Regions from separate parts of the Homo sapiens genome. Here region 1 is linked to region 2. The links are contacts of gene promoters, found by promoter capture Hi-C in blood cells and fetal thymus (Javierre and others, 2016). All regions are on one chromosome and are shown on one strand. Each heading gives the region's core, a stretch centred on a gene start or on the middle of the fragment in contact. The rest is flanking DNA. Distances are from core to core; before and after follow the strand shown. Region 1 overlaps TFDP2 (transcription factor Dp-2). Region 2 holds the start of RNF7 (ring finger protein 7).

The links. Contacts are between HindIII fragments. The CHiCAGO score rates a contact against its expected background, and 5 or more counts as called.
Region 1: a fragment that was not itself captured here is called in contact with the fragment with the promoter of RNF7 in region 2 in 1 of 17 cell types (M0 macrophages); the score reaches 5.4 in M0 macrophages.

What each region holds. Positions count from the first base shown.
Region 1 is chr3:141,996,858-142,003,112 of GRCh38, reverse strand. All of the region lies in intron 4 of TFDP2 (transcription factor Dp-2), which reads left to right. Among named protein-coding and RNA genes, the nearest start is that of ATP1B3, 120 kb to the right of the region's middle. RefSeq lists a silencer at 2,147-2,340. The HindIII fragment of the contact is 5,648 bases long and covers 2,029-6,255 here.
Region 2 is chr3:141,734,186-141,740,568 of GRCh38, reverse strand. It overlaps RNF7 (ring finger protein 7), which reads right to left and starts at 2,271. Exons shown (of 3, transcript NM_014245.5): 1 at 2,053-2,271. The coding sequence starts at 2,227. RefSeq lists enhancers at 1,120-1,798, 1,999-2,238, 1,799-2,478, 2,589-2,638, 2,679-2,728 and silencers at 1,799-1,978, 2,239-2,498. The HindIII fragment of the contact is 15,473 bases long and covers 324-6,383 here.

The DNA of each region.
Region 1 (6,255 bases), core at 3,603-6,102, 260 kb before region 2:
GAGAATTGCTTGAACCCGGGAGGAAGAAGTTGTAGTGAGCAGAGATCGCGGCACTGTACTCCAGCCTGGGTGACAGAGCAAGACTCCATCTAAAAAAAAAAAAAAGTTGAAGGGAGCTCTTTGCCCCCTTCTGCCCCACTTCATGTAGTGAAGACACTACAAGAAGGTACCATCTATGAAGCAGAGAGTGAGCCTTCTGAATTTGCTGGTGTCTTGATCCTGGACTTCCCAGCCACCAGAACTATAAGAAATACATTTCTATCATTTATAAATTACCTATGCTAAGGTATTTTGTTATAGCAGACTAAGACAAAAATTAGTGCCAAGAACTGGGGTGTGGCCATAACAAACACCTAAAACTGTAGAAGTGGCTTTGGAACTGGATAATGGGCAGAGGCTGGAAGAGTTCAGAGGAACAGGCTGGAAAAAGCCTCTTGAGATGAATGGACCATTAAGGGTGATTCTGGTGAGGAATCAGAAAAGGAGAGCTATAGAGAAAGCCTCACTTTTCTTAGAGATTACCTCCGTGGTCATGAACAGAATGTTGGCACAAATATGGATGGTAAAGGCCATTATAATGAGGTATCAGATAGGAGTGAGGGACATGTTATTGGAAACTGGAGGAAAAGCCATCCTTGTTACAGAGTAGCAAAAGGCTGGGCCCAGTGGCTCATTCCTGTAATCCCAACATTTTGTGAGGCCAAGGCAGAAGGATTTCCTGAGCCCAGGAGTTCAAGACCAGCCTGAGCAACATAGTGAGACCTCATCTTTATCAAAAAAAAAAAAAAAAAAAAACACTAAAAATAAAAAATTAGCTAGGCCGGGTGCAGTGGCTTATACCTGTAATCCCAGCACTTTGGGAGGCCAAGGCTGGCAGATCACTTGAGGTCAGGAGTTCGAGAACAGCCTGGCCCACATGGTGAAACCCTGTCTCTACTAAAAATACAAAAATTAGCCGGACATGGTGGCGGGTGCCTGTAATCCCAGCTACTTGGGAGGCTGAGGCAGGAAGATCACTCGAATCTGGGAGGCTGAGGTTGCAGTGAGCAGAGATTGCACCACTGCACTCCAGCCTGGGCAACAGAGCGAGACTTTGTCTCAGACAAAAAAAAAAAAAAAAAACCAGGCATGGTGGCACCTAGCCACTCAGGAGACTAAGGAGAGAGGATCACTTGGGCCCAAGAGTCCAAGGCTGTAGTGACCCTGACAGAGTAAGACTCTATCTCAAAAAAATAAAAGAACTAAACAACAACCAAAAAAGTGGCAAGGGACTTCACTGAATTGTTTTCCTGTTTTAATGTTTTGTGGAAGGAGGAACTTAGGAGCCGTGAAATTGGATATTTGGTCAAAGAAATCTCTAAGCAAAGTGTTTAGGGATCAACATGGCTTCTCTTGGCTGTTTATAGTAAAATGTGAGAAGAGAGAAATGAATTAAAGATATAATTTATCATCAGAAGTGAAGATTTGGGAAATTCTCAGCTTGGCCATGTAAAGAATAAAAAAGCATGTTTTGGAGAGAACACCAAAAGAGTGGCCTAGTCACCTTTTGATAAGGAGATTAGCGTGCATGGGTGGAAGCTTGGTGTTGTTCATCAAAACAATGGAAGAATAAACCCATAGCATTTCAGTGATTACCGGTGCTGCTCCTCCCATCACAGGCCCAGAGTGCCAAGGCATGGGGGACAGAACTATCAAAAGAGGGGCTTCAGGCGCTAATGAAACCCTGGCAATCCCTTCCTGGCACTGTGTCAAGTCTGCTCCCCGAATTTTGGCACAGTGCTCCTTAGCCATTCCAGGTGTGGCTCCAGTAGGCCCAAGTATAGTGGCTGCTCCTCTAGAGGGCACAGGTGGTGAACCTTGGCAGTGTCTGAGTGATGCCATCTCCAGTGGGTGCAGAGTGTACAAGCTGCGGGGTATGATAACTTCCACCTAGATTTCAAAAGATGCCCTGGAGAGCCTTAGCAGATCCTGGCAGAGAATTGCTACAGAGGTGAGGCCACCATTGGGAACCCTCACCAGGGCAAAGCTTGGTGGAGCTGAGGTGCGCGGGGTTGCTCCCTGAGGCCCTAGTCTAGTAGAGCTTCCAGCATGCAACTCCAGCCTGGGAGAGCCACATGCAGAAGACTCAAACTCTAACCCAGGAGAACTGCAGCATGGGCTGCCCCCAATAAAGTCATGGGGGTGGGGGCCCCTGGTACCCTGGGGGCCCAACTCCTGCTCCAGTGTGTCCAGAAGGCAGGATATCAAGTCGAAGATTATTCTGAAGCCTTAAAAGTTAATGTTTGCCCTGTTGGGTTTTGTATTGGTTGGGACCTATTATCCCTTTCTTCTTTTCTATTTTCTCCCTTTTGGAATGGGAATGCATGTTCTGTGCCTGTCCCATCATTGCATTTTGGAAACAGGTTGGATTTCACAGACTCACAGCTGGAGGGGAATTTGCCTCAGGATGAATTGCACCTTTGAGTCTTACCCATATCTGATTTTGGGAAGGAGTTAAGACTTGTGAGACTATTGGAATGAAATGAATGTATTTTGCCTGTGAAATAGACATGAATTTTAGAGGGCCAGGAACTGGATGCTGTGGTTTGAATGGGTTCCTCCAAAAATTCATGTTGAAACCTAATCCCTACTGTGGTGGTATTAAGAGGCGGGGCCTTTTGGGAAGTGATGAAGTCATGAGGGCTTCACCCTTATGAGTGGAATTAGTGCCCTTATAAAAGAGGTTGAAGGGAGCACCCTGGACCCTTTCTGCTATTAGGATGCAACCAGAAGGCATCATCTTTGAAGCAGAGAATAAACCCTCACCAGGCACTGAATCTGCCGGCACTTTCATTTTGGACCTCTCAGCAACCTCCAGAACAGTGAGCAATAAATTTCTGTGGTTTGTAAATTACCCAGTTTTGTACTCCTTGCAGAAGACTTTAAAGAAAATTAATTAATTACCCAGTCTAAGGTGGTTTGTTATGGTAGCCTGAATGGACTAAGACACCCAGTTACAGCCATTTATCGCTTCTCCTCTAACTCCCTCATCCATGATTTTTAAAAAAGTTTTTGTTTAGTTAAAGAATTCTTGGATTAGGCTGGGCGTGGTGGCTCACGCCTGTAATCCCAGCACTTTGGGAGGCTCAGGCAGGCAGATCACGAGGTCAGGAGATCGAGACCATCCTGGCTAACAAGGTGAAACCCCGTCTCTACTAAAAGTACAAAAAATTAGCCGGGCGTGGTGGCAGGCGCCTGTAGTCCCAGCTACTCAGGAGGCTGAGGCAGGAGAATGGCATGAACCCGGGAGGCGGAGCTTGCAGTGAGCTGAGATCACGCCACTGCACTCCAGCCTAGGCAACAGAGCCAGACTCCGTCTCAAAAAAAAAAAAAAAAGGAATTCTTGCATTACAAACTCACCCATTTGCTTCTTAGCCTTCTTTTTGTGCTTGCCCTTTGAACTTTACATGTCTTTTGGAAGCCAAATCTTAATGGTAGATAGAAATTTCAAAAGGCCCCATGAAAAGTTTTGTGTGGTTATGGAAACTAGTTTAGCAGTACCTATTTTAGTTTGAGATACTTGCCCTTTTCTTACAGGCTGTCTTATGGTTATATGTTATAGATCTTAAGATTATTTATACAGTTGACCTTTGACCAATGCAAGGGATAAGGGCACAGCCCCTGTGCAGTCACAAATCCATGGGTAGCTTTTGACTCCCCCAAAATGTAACTATTAATACCTTATTATTGACTAGAAGCCTTACTATAACATAAATAATCAAATAACACATTTTATGTTATATTAATGTTATTTCATATGTTAATATGTATTGTATACTGTATTCTTACAATAAAGTAACCTAGGGAAAAATATTACAAAGAAAATCATTAGGAAAATACATTTATAATTCATTAAATGGAAGTGGATTATCATAAAAGTCTTCATCCTCGACGTCTTCACGTTGAGCAGGCTGCGGAGGAGAAAGAGGGAGGAGTTGGTCTGGCTGTCTCAAGGGTGGCAGAAGTGGAAGAAAATCCATGTATAAGTGGACCTGCCCAGTTCAAGCCCATGTTGTTCAAGGGTCAACTGTATAAGATAATCTAATGGCTGTCTTATTTTAGAAGAGTAAAAACTGCATGCTTCTTATAGTGAAAACCAAAATTCCATCAAATAGTGAAATCTCTTAATATACCACTTTATAATTTTGTAATTTTTTTTCCCTTTAGAATACATATGCTGTCTTGGCTTTTTTTAACTGTAGATGGCAGTAGCACATAAAATATGTTGATTGAGGGCAGGAAAATGTTCAGAGTAATGTTCAATTGCTATGTGATTTTCCCAGAGTAACTAATTCTATTGTCAGAGAAACCACATGATAACATTTAAGTTAAGGATGTCTGGATTTTTGGTAGGAGGACTCTGAAATTTAAAACTCCATTTTCCTTAGCATATCAAGTGAATATTAAAAGTATATTTTTACCTCCAACTTCAGTACTTCAAATTTTTTTTCTTTTTTGACAGAGTCTCGCTCTGTCACCTAGGCTGGAGAGTGTAGTGGCACGATCTCAGCTCACTGCAGCCTCCGCTTCCCAGGTTCAAGTGATTCTTCTGCCTCAGCCTCCTGAGTAGCTGGGATTACCGGCGTGCACCACAACACCCAGCTGATTTTTTTTGTATTTTTGGTAGATATGGGGTTTCACCATGTTGGCCAGGCTGGTCTCGAACTCCCTACCTCAAATGGGAGCCTACCTCACCTGCCTTAGGCTCCCAAAGTGCGGGGATTATAGGAGTGAGCCACTGTGCCTGGCCTGGGATTTCAAAATTAAGGTTCAGGGTTAGAAAGCATGACCGGCTCATCACCCTATAAACCAATTTTCTTATATTCTGTGGCTGTTCAAGTCTTACCGACTTTCCTTCTGTTTTATTTCTTACGTTTCACTCTCATTATCCTAGTTTAGGAACTTACTGTATCTCACATACTCTTAGGCCTTATCTTTCCTATTCAGGTGCGTCATCTCTCTAATTTGTTCATGTAGGAAATGTTTATTAAGGAATTGCTATGTACCAGGCCCTGTGCTAAGAGAAAGGAGCAGAGTGTTGCTAATCACTCTCCGATCAGCCGCAGCTAACAATCTGACAATGAGGGAGGGAAAAAAAGAAAATGTAAACTAGAATTCACTTTCAAAGTCATTTTCATAAAGATAGCCAGTTTTTCTCTATGTCCTCTTTCCCTTCCTTCTCTCTTTTTTTCCTTTCTTTCTCTTTTTTTTTTTTTTTTTTTTTGAGATGGAGTCTCACTCTGTCGCCCAGGCTGGAGTGCAGTGGCATGATCTCTGCTTACTGTAACCTCTGCCTCCTGGGTTCAAGTGATTGTCCTGCCTCAGCCTTCCAGGTAGCTGAGATTATAGGTGCCCACCCCCACGCCCAGCTAATTTTTGTATTTTTAGGAGAGTTAGGGTTTCACCATATTGGCCAGGCTGATCTTGAACTCCTGGCCTCAAATGATCCGCCTGCCTTTGCCTCTCAAAGTGCTAGGATTACAGGCATGAGCCACCATGCCCAGCTCCTTTTTTTTTTCTACAAAGTCCTGTAAATCAGCAAAACCAAGCATGTAGGCTGCTAATACCATATAGAAATACTGCAGTAGTAATACAATCTGTTTCAAGGGTAAATTGGAATGCTTAGAATAGCTTTGTAGACACTGCTGTTCAAGGAATAGGGTTGACCAGAGGCTAATCAAATAACTCACATTTTTCTTTATAAGTTGTCCATCCAAGGTCAGCATGATAGAGAATGTGATGTAGTGATTGGTGGAAACTATGCTGTATTTTTTTAGTGGATTTTATATAAACCTTTTAGCATATCAATAAATGAAGTTACTTTTTCCCCTATTATTTTAAAAATTGAGTATTTTATCCCAGTTAGTAAATATTTATTGTACCTTTCCTATGAGCATCCCCTACCACTGTGTTAAACCCTGCAAAGGACATAGTTTAGCAAGGTACTCGCCACCCCTAAAGATCCTGCACTGAAATGGGGGATGCACTGAAAGTGGGGATGTGGGACCAGATGTGTGGAGTGGGAAGTGCAAGCATACTTGGAATGCAAGGCAGAATTTGATGAGAGGTACAGACACATTGTCTGTTTTTATGTTTTCTCATGAGGCAAACTTCTGAGTGCCTTATTTAATACCCTTGGTGTATTGTACATAATCAGAACTCTCCAGACATCTGTCAGTATTATTAACTTTTGTTTTTATTTTTTTAAACTATGGA
Region 2 (6,383 bases), core at 1,022-3,521:
GGTCTAGCCTAGAATAATTTCCTGAACCCAAAGTACAGCTGTTGTAAATATGCAAGACTGATCCTGTAGTAGCAGAATACTTGCTATAATTAGAAAGTTTATGATGAAATGTGTCATTTATAGTCTATACTTTGACCTACATTAAAATCTCTCAGTAAAGTTTATTTGTTGCAAAGTTTCAATCATTATTTCAGGTTATACATTTCCACTTACTCTTTAAATGTTTTTCCTTTGGGGAGGAAATAGCTTTTTGGGAGACAAATCTTTTGAAAATACCCTTTGGGAACATTATTTTTAAACTGGAAAGGAACTAAGTGAAAGCTTAGTTTCCTTTAAACTAAAGGAAATTTATTTAGGAGATAAAATGTTTAGCGAAACTTGTCTTAAAAAAAAAAAAAAAGAGTCTCCTGGATCAGTTAAAAATGCTTCCCAAACTAGAAATTATGATTCCTAAGTGGGGGTAGGGGCAGCTGTATTGCTGGCAAATAAACTAGATACTTTTAAAGCCTCATATGTTTTGTTTGTTTGTTGCTGAGACAGGGTCTCATTCTGTCACCCAAGCTGGAGTATAGTGGCAGTGGCAGTGGCAGGAACAAGGCTCACTGTAGCCTCGACCTCCTGGGCTCAAGGGATCCTCCCACCTCAGCCTCCAGAGTAGCTGGAGGCCACCATGCCTGGTCAGCTTTTTATTTTAATTTTTAATTGTACAGACAGGGTCCTGCGATGTTGCCTAGGCTGGTCTCAAACTCCTGGGCTCAAGTGATCCATGTAAAATAAGTGGGTCATGTCTAATATCAAGGTCTTTCAAAAGAGAAAGATAAAAATATCTGAATCCAATTGTTGTAAATCCTCTTTGAAACAAGCCCTTAGGAATAAAAGACAAAAGAGCATAAACTGCGAAATCTCTTGATTCTGGTATGTTTACAGTCTCACCCCCCTTAAGGTGAGCAATTCTCTGTATGTTCTCCAATTCTCTCATTTTTCAAGACAAGTCACAGTTTTCAAACGATAGAAATGTCCGTTTTCTTTAACTACCCTCAATAAAGAATTCCACTGAAGAGGGTCTCATAGTAATTTTAAATGCCCTATCTGAAAATACAACTTGCATTTAAATAGCACCTGCTTTTCAAAGTGGTCTGAGTTCTTAGAACCATATAAAATATAACAAGATTAAGCTGTTCTGAAAAGTTTCACTTGGTCTAATATTTTAACTCAAAATATCACAGAAAGAAGACATATTTGTAAGAGGGTTCTCCACAAAGGCATGACTCAGAGCAGCACAGTATCTTCTCCAGGAAATGGCATCCAATATGGAGAGGGGGGTGTGATGGAGGTGAAGTTTTACGTTTCTGAAAAAAGGGCTTACAATTCTTCAGCTTCCATGAAACTTAGATATTCTTGAACCACACTGTTCCCTTCAAGCCACGCTAGTGCTATCTGACCCGTCTTAAATCAATCCAGATTTAAAAGCCATTCGAAGAGCGGCGGTAAGCTAATCCGGAAATGCAATGGCTATGAACACTTTCCTGCGTCCCTCGAGGAGAACTAAGGGTGTCGTTTTGTGGAAGATGACTCTGGAGCATCACTTTGGTGGTGACCAAGACTATTAAAGTTCACTGCTGAATCACGGCCTTTACCCTGACCACCTTGTGTTGAGCTTTTAGAGGTGGGGCTGGGGCTGGACACACAAACCGAAGTGTTTCCTGCTAGTTCCCAACAATCACCCGGTTTTACTTTCTTGGTCACACCCATCACTACCTGAAATTACCTTGTTTAACTCCGTTTATTGCCCGTCTCTCTCCCTAGAACACCAACCACCCGGCGCAGGGCGCCTGTTGCACAACCCCGCAGCCCCAGGCGGCGGCCGCAGCCCTCAGGAGCCGCAGCAGGAGCGTGGCTCCGCGTTCCTCCGGCGCCGGGGCAGGGCGACCTCCACCCACTCTCCCAGGCAGGGCACTTTCCGAGGCTTCTGACGGACGCCCGTCCCTTCCCAACCCCGAGGTCGGCTCCCGGAGGCCGCAGGGCGGCCCTGGACTCGCGTGCAGCGCTTACCCATCACCTGGACCCTGCAGATGGCGCACGTATCGCACTCCACGTCCCAGCTCCACATGGCCACCGCGTTCCACTTCTTGAGGGAGAACATCTTGTCGCCTCCCGACTTGGAGCCTGAGCTCCCGGAGTGAGAGGCCAGGGCGCAGGTTTCCTCTCCGTCTTCCACGTCGGCCATGGCGGCGCCGCGGAGCCGACGGCGGAGACGTTGGCTTGGGGAAGGCGGAAGGCTAGGGCGGCTCTGTGGAGCCGCCCGACGGGCCACAGCGCCGCCCGCAGGCCGCCAGCCACCGTGGTGCCTAGACCCCGGCTGCCCACGATTGGCTGGCGCGGCACAGTGACGTCACCTGACGCCAGCGCCAGGGGGGCGGGCAGGCCCCGCCCTCGCCGTCCTAGGCCAACTGAGAGGGCTCGGGCCCTTATGGGGCGACGCCGCTGAATCTGCCTGCTGCGCTGCGGGGTGTTACGTCTGAGCAGGCGCACAGATTGTGCAGGGATATGTGTCCTGCTTTACGGCTTCATTAAACCTACTGCTCTCAGAAATTATCTTGTTAATTTATTCGTTTGTCTCTTCCCTCCCAAATGTAAAACTCTATCAGAGCAGGAAACATGTTGCTATCACCACATTATCCTCCGTATCTGCAAAATGCCTGGCCACAGGAGGCACAATTATTTGTTGAGTGAATAAATGATCTTAAAGATCTAGAAATCTGGTTCAGTGATTCTCAAAACTTTTTGGTCCCAGGACTCCTTTTCACTTAAAAATTATTAGGACCTTAAAGAACTTTTATTTATGTAGGAAATGTGTAAATATATATATATATACACACACACATATTATGTATGAATATATATACACATATACAATGAATATATGTATATTCATATATACATACATTTCCTGTATATGTATACACACATATGTAGAGATTAATGTTTGCTTTTGAAGAAATTAAAACATTTTAAAATGTATTCATTAAAAATCACAGTAGTAACCTCATTACAGGTTATCATTAGAGGGATGACTTCACATACCATGTAGTTGCTAGAAACTCCGGTGTACACTCGTAGAATGAGAGTGAAAAGAGAGAAATAGCTCTAAATATTGTTAGGCAACTAGTTTGCCCTCTTTTGACCGCTAAAAGAGGTCGGGATCCCAGGAGTCCCGGTGTGTGGCGACACAACCCACACTTATTTTTCAGGCCCCGCTCCCTCAGCTGCACAGTCTCCATTCCTTCTGCTCAGTACATTTGAGCTAGTTTAACTTCCTCTTTTTATATGTAGGACTAATGAGGTCTGAAGAAGTGAAATGACAAAGATCACATCGTTATTATAGTAGTGCTTCTACGGCTAGCCCACCATCACATGTGTTTCCAAGAAAGCCGGTATCTCCATTGAAAAGAAAACAGAAGCACAGCCAGCCTAAGGAGATGCCTGACCCCACCATCACCTAGTGGTGGACAGCTACTCTGTCAAGTTTGGATTCTGAGCCTCTCCCCATCCCCTCATTTCCTGATACCTGGGCAAAAGCTAACCAGACTAATGGAGCCTGGCAGGGGAAACAAGAATGCATTAATATACAGAAACATAAATATGGACACAGGGTCACATTTGGTTAGATGCAAATGCGTATTTGTTGAGTGGTGTGTTAAGGGCTGTGAGGGTACAGGATGCAGTGAGGGAAAGCCTCATGAGAGAGGTAGAGGATGCAGTGAGGGAAAGCCTCATGAGAGAGTAGAGGATGCAGTGAGGGAAAGCCTCATGAGAGAGGTAGAGGATGCAGTGAGGGAAAGCCTCATGAGAGAGGTGAAGTTTGAACTGGGGGAACATGGGAGGTCTTCAGGGCCAGTGGAGAGAGCAAACCTCTCTGAGCTGTTGGCCAGAGCAGGGCACAATGGTGGCAGCAGACAGGAATTGGACCACACCTACTTTATAAGCCAGACACCCATTGGAGTGAGCACACAAAACATGTGTTCTCTTCTTACTGAACGACCACACATCTGCCTAGAGATGGCTGTAAATGCTAGGTATCTAACAAAGAAGGAAGGCTGGCACCAGAGGAGGATAAAACGCACCCAGTTGGTGAGAAGTTTGAAAGTCAAAAGGATGAAATGGTGAAAAGGAAAAGAATGGTTTCGCTGGAGGAATGGTATGTGCCCTTGCTGAGGCATGAAATCTGGAGAGAGGTGTCTGCTGCAATGAAATTTAAAATAGAAGCCAGGAGGGAGCATAGGGGCGGGAAGTGGGAAGGCAGGTGGAGGAGATGAGTACAGTTTTGACACACTGCATGTCAGGAGAACTTTTTCTCCTGACAAAAAGAACAGGAATGAGTGATGCGCCAGAGTTCAGTGCAACAAGCAAGCATGCATGGGGAGAAAGGAAAGCAGGAGTGAGGCAGAAAGTTCAGGCTGCAGCAGCTGTTCAGGCGTGGTGGGGCCAACGGGTCCCCTGTGATTACCTTCCTTTGGTTCACCTTCATGAGGGCTTGTCTGCCATCATGAGCACCCAAAGGGCAGGAACTATAGGTGGCCTTGAATGCAGCAAAACAAATATCTGTCCTTCTCATGGCCTGCTCAGTTCCCACTCCACCACTGTGCATTGTTCCTCTCACCAGTCCTTGGTGTGTGGTGACACAACCCACACTTATTTTTCAGGCCTGGCTTCCTCAGCTGCACAGTCTCCTTTCCTTCTGCTCAGTACATTGAAGACGTAGTTTCTTTCATTTTGAGGACTTCTCTTAAGCAAAATATTTGAGGACTAACTAATAAATATTTAGGAAAAACTTGTCTCAGTACAAGTGGACATTTTTGTTATTTCTTTGGTCCTCACTCCAACCATCATTTCCCCCTTCTATGCCATTCATCTTTAACAAAATAAGTTTTCCTGTTGCCAGGGAGGTAAAACTTTCACTCTACCCTCTTAGGTTCAGTATTCGGGGGATTGCAAATTAAACCAACAAAACACAGCTTAGCAGGAGAAAAGATAGATTTTTATTCACTGAAGCAGTCAGAGTTCACAGAAAATTATGACTCAAGGAGCAATTAGAATTTGGGGCTTATATACTGTCTAAATAAAGGAAAGGGAGAAGGAGAAAGGGCACTTCTGGGAAAAAACTTTCAGAAAAGATAAACAGGCCTTTGGGAGAATAGATGGGAGATATGATAGTTTTGTGACAAAGTCTATTAGGTGATTTATTATCCCAGTACCAACTTCCTGTTTCTAAAGATAGGGTCAATCTTCCCTGGTTTTGAAATTGCTGGGAAGGAATTTAAGACAGTTGAATTCTTTTGAGAGGCAAGTAAGTTCAGGGAAAAAATTAAAATAAAATAAAACAACTCTTCCTGCATCCACTGATTCTCAAATGCCTTTAGCTCAAAATAATCCTTATGCTATAGTGGCATATTCTGGACTTCTTTCCTGTACTAGGGAAAGAAATAAAAACAAAAACAAACCTGATGACATTTGCTTGTTGAGCTGGAGTAGTTTCCCCAAAAGGACCAATGTTTGGAACCATAATGACAAAGCAAGAAAATTGTTCCTAGAGGCTAGAGATCAAAGCTAGCCCGAAATGTATAAGCTGCCTCCTCCTGGGAATGTCCTTCTAAGCAAGTCTGCTCTCCATCACACTTGTCAGACAAGAGTTATGGCTCATCTTTTTTCTTGGAAATAATTGTGTTTATGTCCATAGGTCCCTGAGCATTTTCTGGTCTTCTTTGGTCACATGGAACCCTCCAGTTCATTTGCCTCTCTTGGTCTTAGGTGAAGGTGCTATGGCCGGAAATCATTAGTCCTGCCACCCCACTCCCCCAACACACACACACACACACACACACCCCATACTGAAAGCGTACATGTGACCAAGGCAATCAGCCTTTGTTGGAGAATTCCTTAAATCCTCCCAACATTATATTTCATTAATTGTAGACATCAATCATCAATTGTGTGACGTAAATCAATTTCGGATGTAAAAAAAGAAGTGATGTAGAATATTTCAGAATAGATGAAAAATGAAATAGAAAAACCCATGCCTAAATCTCATGATGCCTTCTTTAGAAACCTGGTGACTTTCCTGAGAAAGTAGAGTTTTGGGGATTGATTTTAATCCATTTGTCTAAAATTGCTCCACATTGAATCTTCTTGAGCTGCAGGTGCGGATGAGTATAGCACTGTGTGTATGCTTTTGTCTCTTTTTTGAAATTTGCTGAGTTTTTTCTATTAGATATTGGTGACATCGGCTTGAATGGCTCATTGTTGCTTCAAACTTGACAGGTGAAAGGGAGTTCATTTCCTTTCTTGCAAAATTTAGCTTTCTTTCAACAATTCCCTTTCTCTGC